Regions from separate parts of the Homo sapiens genome. Here region 2 is linked to region 1. Evidence: promoter capture Hi-C in human tissues and cell types (Jung and others, 2019). All regions are on one chromosome and are shown on one strand. The core of a region is centred on a gene start or on the middle of the fragment in contact, and the rest is flanking DNA. Distances in the headings are between cores, read along the strand shown. Region 1 holds the start of UBL4B (ubiquitin like 4B). Region 2 overlaps SLC16A4 (solute carrier family 16 member 4).

Region 1 (5,625 bases), core at 912-3,411:
TTCTTCTTCTTCTTTTTTTTTTTTTCTGAGACAGAGTCTCGTTCTGTCACCCAGGCTGGAGTGCAGTGGAGTGATCTCGGCTCACTGCAACATCTGCCTCCCGGTTTCAAGCGATTCTCCTTCCTCAGCCTCCCGAGTAGCTGGGATATTAGGTGCGCGCCACCACGCCCGGCTAATTTTTGTATTTTTAGTAGAGACGGGGTTTTACCATGTTGGTCAGGCTGATCTTGAACTCCTGACCTCACGATCTGCCCGCCTCAGCCTCCCAAAGTGCTAGGATTACAGGCATGAGCCACCGCGCCCGGCCCCATGGGTATCTTCACCAGCTGCTCTTGGCTGCCAGCTTCCAAAGACAGGGACAGAGCTTGCAGCCACCTTTGGGCGGAGTTCAGGGCTGGGTGCTGTGGAAGGGCAGTTCAGGAAAGTCCAAGGATGTTGACAACAGCATCATGCCACTGTAGCTTCCAGGCAGGTGGAAAAGGAAAGGAGGTTAGGTGGGAGGGAGGGAGAAGGTGAGTGAGAAGAAGGGCACAGTCGAGCACAGAGCTGGTGAGAGTTGAGGGGATCCCTGACAAAATCAGCCCACTGGCTGCGAGACGTTATTCAGGTCTTCTCCAAAGTTGCTCAGTTCTAAAATGAGACAATACTTTCCTCCCAGGCTAAATTGTGACAACATATATAAAGGGCTTGACCCAGAAGGCCTTCAGCAATGTGTTGCACTGAAAACTGCCAAATGCTGCAGAAGTTGCAGACACAGAGGAGGCCCAATCAGTGTCCTTTTTCATATTCACCTTTGAGCCGGGGGTGCCTGCTCAGGGCCTGGGCCACAAAAGGCACTGAGCAGAGATTTGTTTAGGAGGCAACATGAGGTAACAGTGAAGACAAGAGCAATTCTGCCTGCTTGCTGTAGGATCAGCCAAGCCTCCACTTTCTCCTCTGGCAGATGGAGATCATGGCAGTGCCTGCCTCATAGGTTGAGAGGATTCAATTAGGCAGGCCTGTGATGCAGATGCTGTGGGCTGTCCTGCCCCATCCCCTCAGCACTCACATTCCTGAGGGCCCGATGGCTTCCTACTTTTCTGTGGTCACAGGAGCATGCTGCTTAACACCTGTGGACCAGAAGTGCCAAGGAGGTAGCACTTCTATTAGCCAAAGACAGGAGTCAGAGCATAAAGATGCAGGTTCGGCCAGGTGCGGTGGCTCACGCCTGTAACCTCAGCACTTTGGGAGGCCAAAGCAGGCAGATTGCTTGTGTCTGGGAGTTTGAGATCAGCCTGGGCAGCATGGAGAAACCCATCTCTACTAAAAATACAAAAATTAGCCAGGCATGGTGGCGTGCAGCTGTAGCCCCAGTTACTTGGGAGGCTGACACAGGAGAATTACTTGAACCCAGGAAACGGAGGTTGCAGTGAGCCGAGATCATGCCACTGCACTCCAGCCTGGGCAACAGAGTGAGACCCTGTCTCAAAAAACAAAAAAAAAAACAAAAAAACCACACCTGGTGCAACTCAGGTGTGTTCCATGCAACCTCCCAGAACTCCCCAGCAGGATAACATACTAGTTGCCCACAATGGCAACCTGCTCATGAATGCACGTTTTGATTTCCCTCCCGTCCTCATCTCACATCCTCACTCCCCTCCTGGTGCCTCCTGGGATCACCTCCTAATTGAGTACTTGTTCTCAAATCCCTGTCTCAGTGTCTGCTGCTGGAAAGCCCAATCCAAAAGAGCGTGTAAAGTGCTTGACAGAAAGAGGACGCTTGATAAATGCTAGCCAGCTCACTAGTGTGAAAGTGTCATGAAGGCAGAAGTCATCCATCTGAATATGACTGTCTCCCCAGGTCCAGGTGCTGGCACAGAGGTGGCACCTAATACACATGTGTTGAAGAAATCAATAGACATGCTCCTCCCACCACCCTGTCCTTTCCCTCCCTCCCTTTCCCTAGTCTCACTCTCATTTCCCCCAGTCCCACATTTTCTTTCCTAGTGCTCTTTTTCTCCTCTCGTGGAGGAAGGATGCTCTGGGCCCAAATACCCCTTTGCTGTCCCAAAAGTTCCACTCTGGAAATGAGCCCCCCCGCAGCATTGTGACATCACCGTGCACTAGCCAATGGCTGCCTGCCTAAGCTGGGTCCCTGGTCTCCTGGGACTACTAGCCCTTTGTTGATAGGGAGAAGCCAACATCTCCCGCAGGACCCCCTAATCTTCAGGGCAGCTCCCAGAGCATGGATCCCTCCTGATTCCACTCAGCCCGATGTTCCTCACAGTCAAGCTGCTCCTGGGCCAGAGATGCAGTCTGAAGGTGTCAGGGCAAGAGAGTGTAGCCACGCTGAAGAGACTGGTGTCCAGGCGGCTGAAGGTGCCTGAGGAGCAGCAGCACCTGCTTTTCCGTGGCCAGCTCCTGGAGGATGACAAGCACCTCTCTGACTACTGCATTGGGCCCAATGCCTCTATCAATGTCATCATGCAGCCCTTGGAGAAGATGGCGCTAAAGGAGGCCCACCAGCCGCAGACCCAGCCCCTGTGGCACCAGCTGGGACTGGTCCTAGCTAAACACTTTGAACCACAGGATGCCAAGGCCGTGCTGCAGCTGCTAAGGCAGGAGCACGAGGAGCGCCTGCAGAAGATAAGCCTGGAGCACCTGGAGCAGCTGGCCCAGTACCTCCTGGCAGAGGAGCCTCACGTGGAGCCAGCTGGAGAGAGGGAGCTTGAGGCGAAGGCACGGCCTCAGAGCTCCTGTGACATGGAGGAGAAGGAGGAGGCAGCAGCTGATCAGTAAACGGGCCATCCTACCCATTTGCATGCTAAAATTCTCCCGGCCTCATCCTTACGTGTTCCCTGGTGACTTTTCCTACTACTTCCTGCTGATGTGGATGCGTCCACACCCCTTTTTGAACCTTCCAAGCAGCTGGAGGGTTTTTGGATCCCTGTCCCCTCTTGGGCCTGAGGTCCTCCCTCTGAAATGCAGAGTGAACCAACCCTCATCACCATGCTTCCCCTAGAAGGGTTCTGATCACCGGAGGGCAGCCCCAAAGGCCACAGTCCCCTCCTGTGCTGGCAGCTTTGCCCACACATACCCAGCAGCTCCCCAGGCTGAAAGCAGCCCTGGCCCAGGGTCTCCATGGTTCTAGGCAGACCCTCTTTCTCCTTCGGGACAGAAAGACAATGTGAGTTCATTTTCCTCCATCCTCAGACCGTGACATCTCCCCTAGGCTCCCCAGCAGCCAAGAGGAGAGGAATGTCAGGTAGCTGCCCCTTGCCTTCTGGGTGAGGCTGCCCCTGCTGTTCTCCTGCTTGTGCTTCCAGCTTAAGGGACAGGCACAGCAGAGGTGAGAGTGGGAGGAGGGCACGTACCGGGTGCCAGCCCTGGAGCCCTCAGGGAGACAGACACAGACCAAGAATAGCAGGAAACTGAGCCTCAGGCAGAAAAAAAGTTCAGCAAAGTCATACACTCCCTGTGGCCAGCGTGAACAGAGCCATGCCCCACCCTCCCAGACTGATCAGTCAGTAGGTATCACAGCTCACATTACCTGCCCAGCGCTGCCCAAGGCTCCCTGGAAGGAAAAATGGTATCTGTCAATGAGGATCCTTGCCCTCACAGAGCACGCAGCCTAGATGCAGAGAGCTGCTATACATGTGAAAAGTAAAGTGGTGACATGAAACTAGAGTCTAGTGTGTGTGACTGAATGCACGGGGCCTCACGGGGCCCTGGGTTCAGCATAGAGGGGCCAGTCCCCTGCAGACTACGAGGAAAGCCAGGCCCTTTACTCTGTTCTTTGAGTGAGAGAGTGGCCCTTGCAGAGGCTGAGGAGTCCCCACACTCTGTGTGTGAGTGGGAGGGAGTGGGGAGCTGTGGTCCCCCATTCACTGCTGAAGCCCCTGAAATGCTGTTATTGCAAAAGTTTCAGTCCTGAGTGATGGGGATGGAGGGAAGGGGTGGAGGAGAATGTCTTGAACAAGCAGGGCCCCCTTCCCTAGGAAGCATCCTGTCCTTGGCCTGCAGGGCCCCTCATCCTCTCTTCCAGTCCGAGTCCAGCTGTGTGGCCATGGGTAACCTGCTTTTCCTGTCTGATGCTCAGGTTTCCCACCTGTTGCATGGGCATCCTTATAACAGCATCTACTTACCCCATGAGTGTTGGTGACGGTTAGAGGCAAAGACTGTCCAACTGGGAGGGATGTCTTCTAGTGGTGGGCTCAGCGGCAGTGACAAGGATGGATGTGGAAAGCATTCTGTTTGTGGGAGCCTGCTTAGCAGTGGTCATTCCCTCACCTCGCAGAATAAGACAACCTCGTTCAGCTTATGACCCAGCTCCTTTCCCAGTGCCCCACCCACTGTCCCAGCCAAGAGAGCAAACTAGGGGCTCTGAGGAGACTAATGACCTCTCCCTGGGGTACCAAGGACCCAGCACGCACTGGCTGCAGCCAGCACTCCCAGGCTGGGGTTTAGGGGGCTCAAGCCTGCTCCTTGGTTCCTGTCCTGGTCCTGCTCCTGGGCCCTGCATCCTCAGCAGGGGAGCCCTCTTGACAGTTCTGTGAGTGTTTTCATGCTGGGGCTGTACCATTTGCCAAGGGAGATGAGCCTATTATCTTTACATTAGGGGAACTAATAGCCCATTTCCCAGGAAATCCGTGAGCGATAAAAATAAGTGGGCCGTTTTATTCCTTTTACTGAGAGAAGCTGGCATGAAGGACAGGGGAAGCCTTTGTTTTCTCTCTAGTTAGTGGGAGTATCAGGGCTGGCTGAGAGCAGGCCAGGGGAGGCAGCCACCTCCACTGTCTGTCCCCAGCACTGCAGGGGAGGATGTCTCCAATCCCAAACGGGGAAGAAGGAAAGTTGGTCTGCTCTTCCATGCACCTCCCACTACCGACTTCCCCCATCCCAAGGGCCCTCCTGCCCCTGTTCCTCCCTTCAAAAGCAGGAGAGAATGCACTGTCACTTGGAACTTAGCAGGAACTTGCACCTATTTGTCACCACTCCCAGGAATGGTCTTACTCAGTGCTGTGTTTCTCAATGTGGGGTGACAGGCATTGTCCCCTAAAGGATGTTGTTATAGTCATCAGAGAACAGAAGTTAGGAGTGTATTTGAGGGGCTGGGGCAGGATCAACCCCTAATACTCCAGCGATGGGTTTGGATCTCATCTGTGTTGAGAACACTAGCTCTTGGGCTGCCTGCCATGGGACCCCTCACTTTGCCTAGTTTTGCCCTATTTCAAACTGAAGCCTGTACCAGTGCACCTGTTGAAGGCTCCCTATTTCCTCTCTGCTTCGCTAGGGAGAAGGCACTTTTTCTAAACTTCAGCCTTGGGCAGAAACTCTTTCCCCTAACTCCCCACGGCATCTCTCCCCTACCTACCTACAGGTAACAATTTTGCTCATGTTGGGGGCATTTCAGGACAGCCACCACATCCAGTAGCCAGCTTCGTGTTTCTATCCACAGAGAAATCTAGCTTCTCATCCCAGCTTCTTCCTGGGTCACCTGCAGGCCAACACCCCTCAGTCCACTGGTCCATGGCAAAATAGTCTTTCTGATAGAAATAGGCAGAGCATCCTGGTCCATGTGCTATTTAGTCAGTCCTTTGCTTTTCGATCAATAAACATATATGGGCCTCTGTCTCAGTCTGTTTG
Region 2 (5,625 bases), core at 1,316-3,815, 250 kb after region 1:
TTTTTCCATCTTTCGGCCAATGGTACAAAAAAAAAGGAAACTGAAGAGAGGAGATAGCATATGCCAGAGAAGTAGAAAGAGCCATTGTATGTCTGGGTATAATCATATAACCAGCCTGGAAGGAAGGAATGATTTCTGTTAGGGAAGGAAATTTTGCCATTAGTAACTCTCAGCCATGAATAGCTCCTCAAAGCAAGGAGCCTCCTGTATTGTGACCCATTTGAACTTAGTGAAGCTTCTTAGCTGCCCTATTTTTCACTGATGAAGTTGAATCAGCTCCACCTGAGTTAGGGACTTACACCATCTCCAATCTTACAGTGGAAGTTGGAGAAAATTAGGAACACATACCGTTTTATTTTACCATGAATTTTATTAGAAGGCCGCTATTATGAAGAAAATAATCATAAATTATTGTTTTCCAGAGAAAAAAAGAAGTGATAATAATCAGTTTTCTTTTTTTTCCTTTACTAAACAAAGACTTGAGTACTTACTATATTCCTGTTAATATTGCTAGGTGTTGAGGATACACTAGTGAGCCAAAACAGATACGGTCCTTGCCCTCACAGAACTTTAGTGGGGAGATAGGTACCAACCACATAAATGATATGTGATAAGTGCTATGAAGGGAAGGTGCAGGAGGCTATCAGAAGATATGAGAAGGAACTGACTGCTTGATCACGTGGGTTAAACAATGACAAGTTCCCCCCTGAAATCTAAATGCTTTTTTTTTTTTTTTTTTTTTGAGACAGAGGCTTGCTCTGTCACCCAGGTTGGAGTGGTGTAGTGGCACGATCTCTGCTTTGCTTACTGCAACCTCCACCTCCTGGGTTCAAGCAGTTCTCCTGCCTCAGCCTCCCAAGTAGCTGGGATTACAGGTGCCCGCCACCACACCCGGCTAATTTTTGTGTTTTTAGTAGAGACGGAGTTTCGCCATGTTGGCCAGGGTGGTCTTGAACTCCTGACCTCCAGTGATCCGCCTACCTCGGCCTCCCAAAGTGCTGGGATTATAAGCGTGAGCCACTGCACCTGGTCCTAAGTGCTTTTTAAAAGCATAAGTTGGAGGGTCTTCAAAGTCTTTTGGCTAATGGCACATACTAAAACTTAAGCGAAACACTTTTTTTTCTTTTTTTTTTTTAACTGAGTAGGTGATAGCAAAGAATATTTATGCTAAGGCACATCATTGCAAAAGTCAACACTGAAAAAAGCAAATAATGTCCTTAGTATTATCATGACAATAATTTTGGCCTCCTGGACTTCCTAAAGGGTCTCAAGGATCTCTGGGGGTCTGTTGACCTCACTTTGAGAAGTTCTTTTCCAAAGTATAGTATGTATATTATATCTGATCACTTATTCAAGAAATTTCAGTGCTGTATGGCAGCACAGGTCTGGGTTTCAGGGATATACCCCTGAACAAAATAGATGAAAATATCTGCCCTCATGGAGCTTACATTGTGTCTTTGATTTTTCCCTTCTATCTTAGATCATGATGCCTCACTGGATATGTAGAGTATACCCTCCCCCACCTTTTTCTTCTGGTCTGCTTGTTTCATCTCCTCTTTGTTCTGTTATGGACACAGAGGAGATGAGACAAGCAGACCAGAAAAAATTGACTTAATTTATTTTTGTTTTATAGCTCTGTGTTTCCTATTGTTAATGTAAAAAATAAGTGAATAGAATGTTTTATAACCTCTTAAGTTCAACTAACTTTAAGTTGCTTTTTACTTACTGACTCCTGTTTGATTAGTGACCTCTATTAAATGTTTCTTGGAGTTACTGGAGTGAAAACAACTGGACAAGTCTTTGTGTTATGTTGATTGTTATTGACCTATAGATCTCTAAGAAATAGGTGACTAGTCTCTGAACTCTTGTAGACATTTCTAGAAAGGAAGGAGTATAGAAGGTAGCAGTCCTTACCCTCCCATCCCTTGTCATTCTTGCCTTAGTCCTGCCAACACAGCAAATGTATTAGAGTGTATGTGTCTGTGTATGTATATGTGTATATATAAAACCTGTGAATTATAAAATAGTGGTCTCAGAAGTAACACCCTGGGGAAAGACTAGGAATTCTTGGACAAAAAGGTAGACAGTGCTACTAAAATGTCAGATAGCACAGCTAAAAATAGTAAAAATGGATTGAAGAGAAAAACTGTTTATAAGCCTTTTCTTTCTTTTCTTTTCTTTTTTTAAAATTTCTTGTAGAGACTGGATCTAAGTTACCCACGCTAGTCTCAAATTCCTGGCCCCAAGTCATCCTCCTGCATTGGCCTCCCAAAGTGCTGGGATTACAGGTGTGAGCCATCATGCCGACCAAGCCTTTCATTTTACACACACACACACACACACACACACACACACTCTTTCTCTCTCTCTCACTCACTCACTTTTTTTTTTGTTTTTTGAGACAGAGCCTCGCTCTGTTGCCCAGGCTGGAGTGAGTTGCGCAATCTCGGCTCACTGCAACCTCCGACCCGCAGGTTCAAGTGATTCTCTTGCCTCAGCCTCATGAGTTGCTGGGATTATAGGTGCCTACCACCACACCCGGCTCATTTTTTTGTATTTTTAGTAGAGATGGGGTTTCGCCATGTTGGCCAGGTTGGTCTCAAACTCCTGATCTCAGGTGATCCGCCTGCCTCAGCCTTCTAAAGTGCTTGGATTTCACTCACTCTTAGAATGCTGTTTCTGAAACATTAAGTATTAAAATATAGTCATGTGGCACATAACAGGACAAACCTCATGAGGTTATGATATGCATTTTTACTGTATCTATGTTTAGATACATGAATACTTTGTTTGGATACACGAGTATCTTTCTATGTTTAGATACAGTTGCCTACAGTACTCAGCACAGTAACATGCTGTATAGATTTGTAGCCTAGGAGCAATAGGCTCTACCATATAGCCTAGGTGTGTGTAGGTATACTGTTCATATGACAATGAAATCATCTAACACATTTCTCAGAATGTATCCCTGTTAAATAACTCATGACTATATTTAATATATTTTCTTACCAGGGCGGGGAATTGTTTAGCATGTTTTAGAATTATTTCTATGTATTTCCATGCAAAATTAGGTGAAATAAAACCTGGATGAAATAATTGTTGTAAATTTGTTTCTCCCAGTCATATTTGATCATTGAGATATTTGTATTTTTTAGATTCTAAATTAAGATCCAATTGCCATTCAATAGGATAATAGTATACAGCTGAGTATTTAGTTTTAGGATGCTGTTTATACTAGCAAATATGAGGTAAAATGTAGGATGCAGAAATATACATATGACTGATTATTTTATGAAAGTATTAGTTGTTAAAATCAAGCTTATATTTAAGTGGCTACTAGGTTAGTTAAGTTTTGAGCTTCGTTGCTATTGAAACATCTACTTTATTTGATTGGAATAACTAGCCATTCTCTACTGCTGAAAGTAAAAGGATTGGCCAGGCACAGTGGCTCATGCCTGTAATCCTAGCACTTTGGAAGGCCAAGGCAGGCAGATCACTTGAGCCCAAGAGTTCAAGGCCAGACTGGGCAATGTGGTGAGACCCTATCTCTACAAAAAAGAAGTAATAAATTAGCTGGGTGTTGGCCAGGCGTGACGGCTCATGCCTATAATCTTAGCACTTTGGGAGGCCAAGGTAGAAGGATGACTTGAGCTTAGGAGTTCAAGACCAGCCTGGGCAACACAGTCAGACTTTGTCCCTATTCTATCAAAAATTAAAATTAAATTTAGAAAAATATTGGAAAAGAATAAAGAAAAAGTTAAAGAAAAAAAAGCCAGGTGTCATGGCACATGCCTGTAGTCCCAGCTACTCAGGAGGCTGAGTTGGGAGGATCACTTGAGCCCAGGAGGTTGAGGCTACAGTGAGCTGTGATTGTGTCACTGCCCTCCAGCCTGGGCAACAGAGGGAGAGCCTGTCTCAAAAATTTAAAATATATATATATAGGGAGAGAGAACGAGTGTCTGATTTTATTAGATCTCTGTATTTTTTTGGTAACAGGATGAAAAATCTGTTCAGATGCACTTCGGACCCTAAACGGTTTAATGCTTCTAAGTAAATTTTTGTTTTTTTTGAGAGGAATCTCACTCTGTTGCCCAGGCTGGAGTGCAGTGGCGCAATCTCCACTCACTCCCAGCTCCGCCTCCCGGATTCACACCATTCTCCTGTCTCAGCCTCCCGAGTAGCTGGGACCATAGGCGTCCGCCACCGTGCCCGGCTAATTTTTTGTATTTTTAGTAGAGACAGGGTTTCACCATGTTAGCCAGGATGGTCTCGATCTCCTGACCTCGTGATCTGCCCGCCTCGGCCTCCCAAAGTGCTGGGATTACAGGCGTGAGCCACTGCGCCCAGCCAAGTAAATATTTTTAAAAGAAAGTATTGTTGATAGTTCAGAAGCCACTGTATTCTCACCATTTTAAATGGAAGCACACACATAAGTTGACATTCAAAAGACTAGATTCCTTTGTGGTCATAGCATAAGCATTGTGAACGTCAGAGAAAGACAAGATTACATACCAGTTATAATCTAGGATAATGTGCATGTATCTGAATGTTCACTCTATGCCTGGTATTACTGTATGTAGCCAGCACTCTGAGGAATAAACTGGCAGCTGATGCAGAATTATTAAGCTGAAGACCTCTGTAAGCATTTCCTTGGTGTCTACAGGCTACCTGCGTCAGATTTACCTGAGATGCATGTTAATAATGCAGATTCACTGGATTCTGTCAAGCATAACTCCATCCTGGGTGGCACTCAGTTGATTCTTACGCACAGTAAAATTATTATTTAACAATAATAATTATTGTATTTGAAGTTACTAGTCCAGACTCTTTTCTTATATCTATGGCTATAGGACTTGTTTTAGGCAGAAATGTCTAGTAATGTTTCCTGTGATAATTTAAAACAAATAGGAAGATTGGGCTGAGCTTCTTTAAATACTGGTGCAAACCATTTTTTTTACAGTCAGTTAAAAAGGAATAAGAATAATCATTCAAGTTAGATATTTAATATAGGATTCTGAACTCATTTTTTAAGTGTTAATATTTTAAAACTATTCCACATTATTTTATGTGTTAGGCCATACATGTTTCAAAAGGAATTTAGCATCCTGTCTAAAAAGTATTCATACCTTCAGACATCTCAGAATCTCAGAACTTGATTGTTAAGCTAAGTTATGAATCTTTTTTTTTTTTTTTTGAGATGGAGTCTCGCCCTGTCGCCCAGGCTGAAATGCAGTGGTGCAATCTCGGCTCACTGCAACCTCCTCCTCCTGGGTTTAAGCGATTCTCCTGCCCCAACCTCCCAAGTAGCTGGGATTACAGGTGCACACCACTACGCCCAGCTAATTTTTGTATTTTTAGTAGAGACGGGGTTTCACTATGTTGGTCAAGCTGGTCTTGAACTCTTGACCTCGTGATCTACCTGCCTCAGCCTCCCAAAGTGCTGGGATTACAGGCGTGAGCCACTGTGCCCAGTCATGAATCATTTTTATTAGGATTACTATGTAAGTTTACTATTGGTCATCTTATTGAAACTTAACATGGCCGGGTGCAGTGGCTCACACCTGTAATCCCAGCACTTTGGGAGGCCGATGTGGGCGGATTGCTTGAGCTCAGTAGTTCGAGACC

Evidence for each region. Contacts are between HindIII fragments. The study calls those that stand out against the background at their distance.
Region 2: a fragment that was not itself captured here is called in contact with the fragment with the promoter of UBL4B in region 1 in 2 of the 25 tissues and cell types used here (heart right ventricle and thymus).

Annotation. Positions count from the first base shown.
Region 1 is chr1:110,110,282-110,115,906 of GRCh38, forward strand. It overlaps UBL4B (ubiquitin like 4B), which reads left to right and starts at 2,162. Exons shown (of 1, transcript NM_203412.2): 1 at 2,162-3,666. The coding sequence starts at 2,254. The coding sequence ends at 2,778. The HindIII fragment of the contact is 14,264 bases long and covers 1-5,625 here.
Region 2 is chr1:110,363,779-110,369,403 of GRCh38, forward strand. SLC16A4 (solute carrier family 16 member 4) reads right to left here. Exons shown (of 9, transcript NM_004696.3): 9 at 1-115. Among named protein-coding and RNA genes, the nearest start is that of SLC16A4, 24 kb to the right of the region's middle. The HindIII fragment of the contact is 7,024 bases long and covers 1-5,625 here.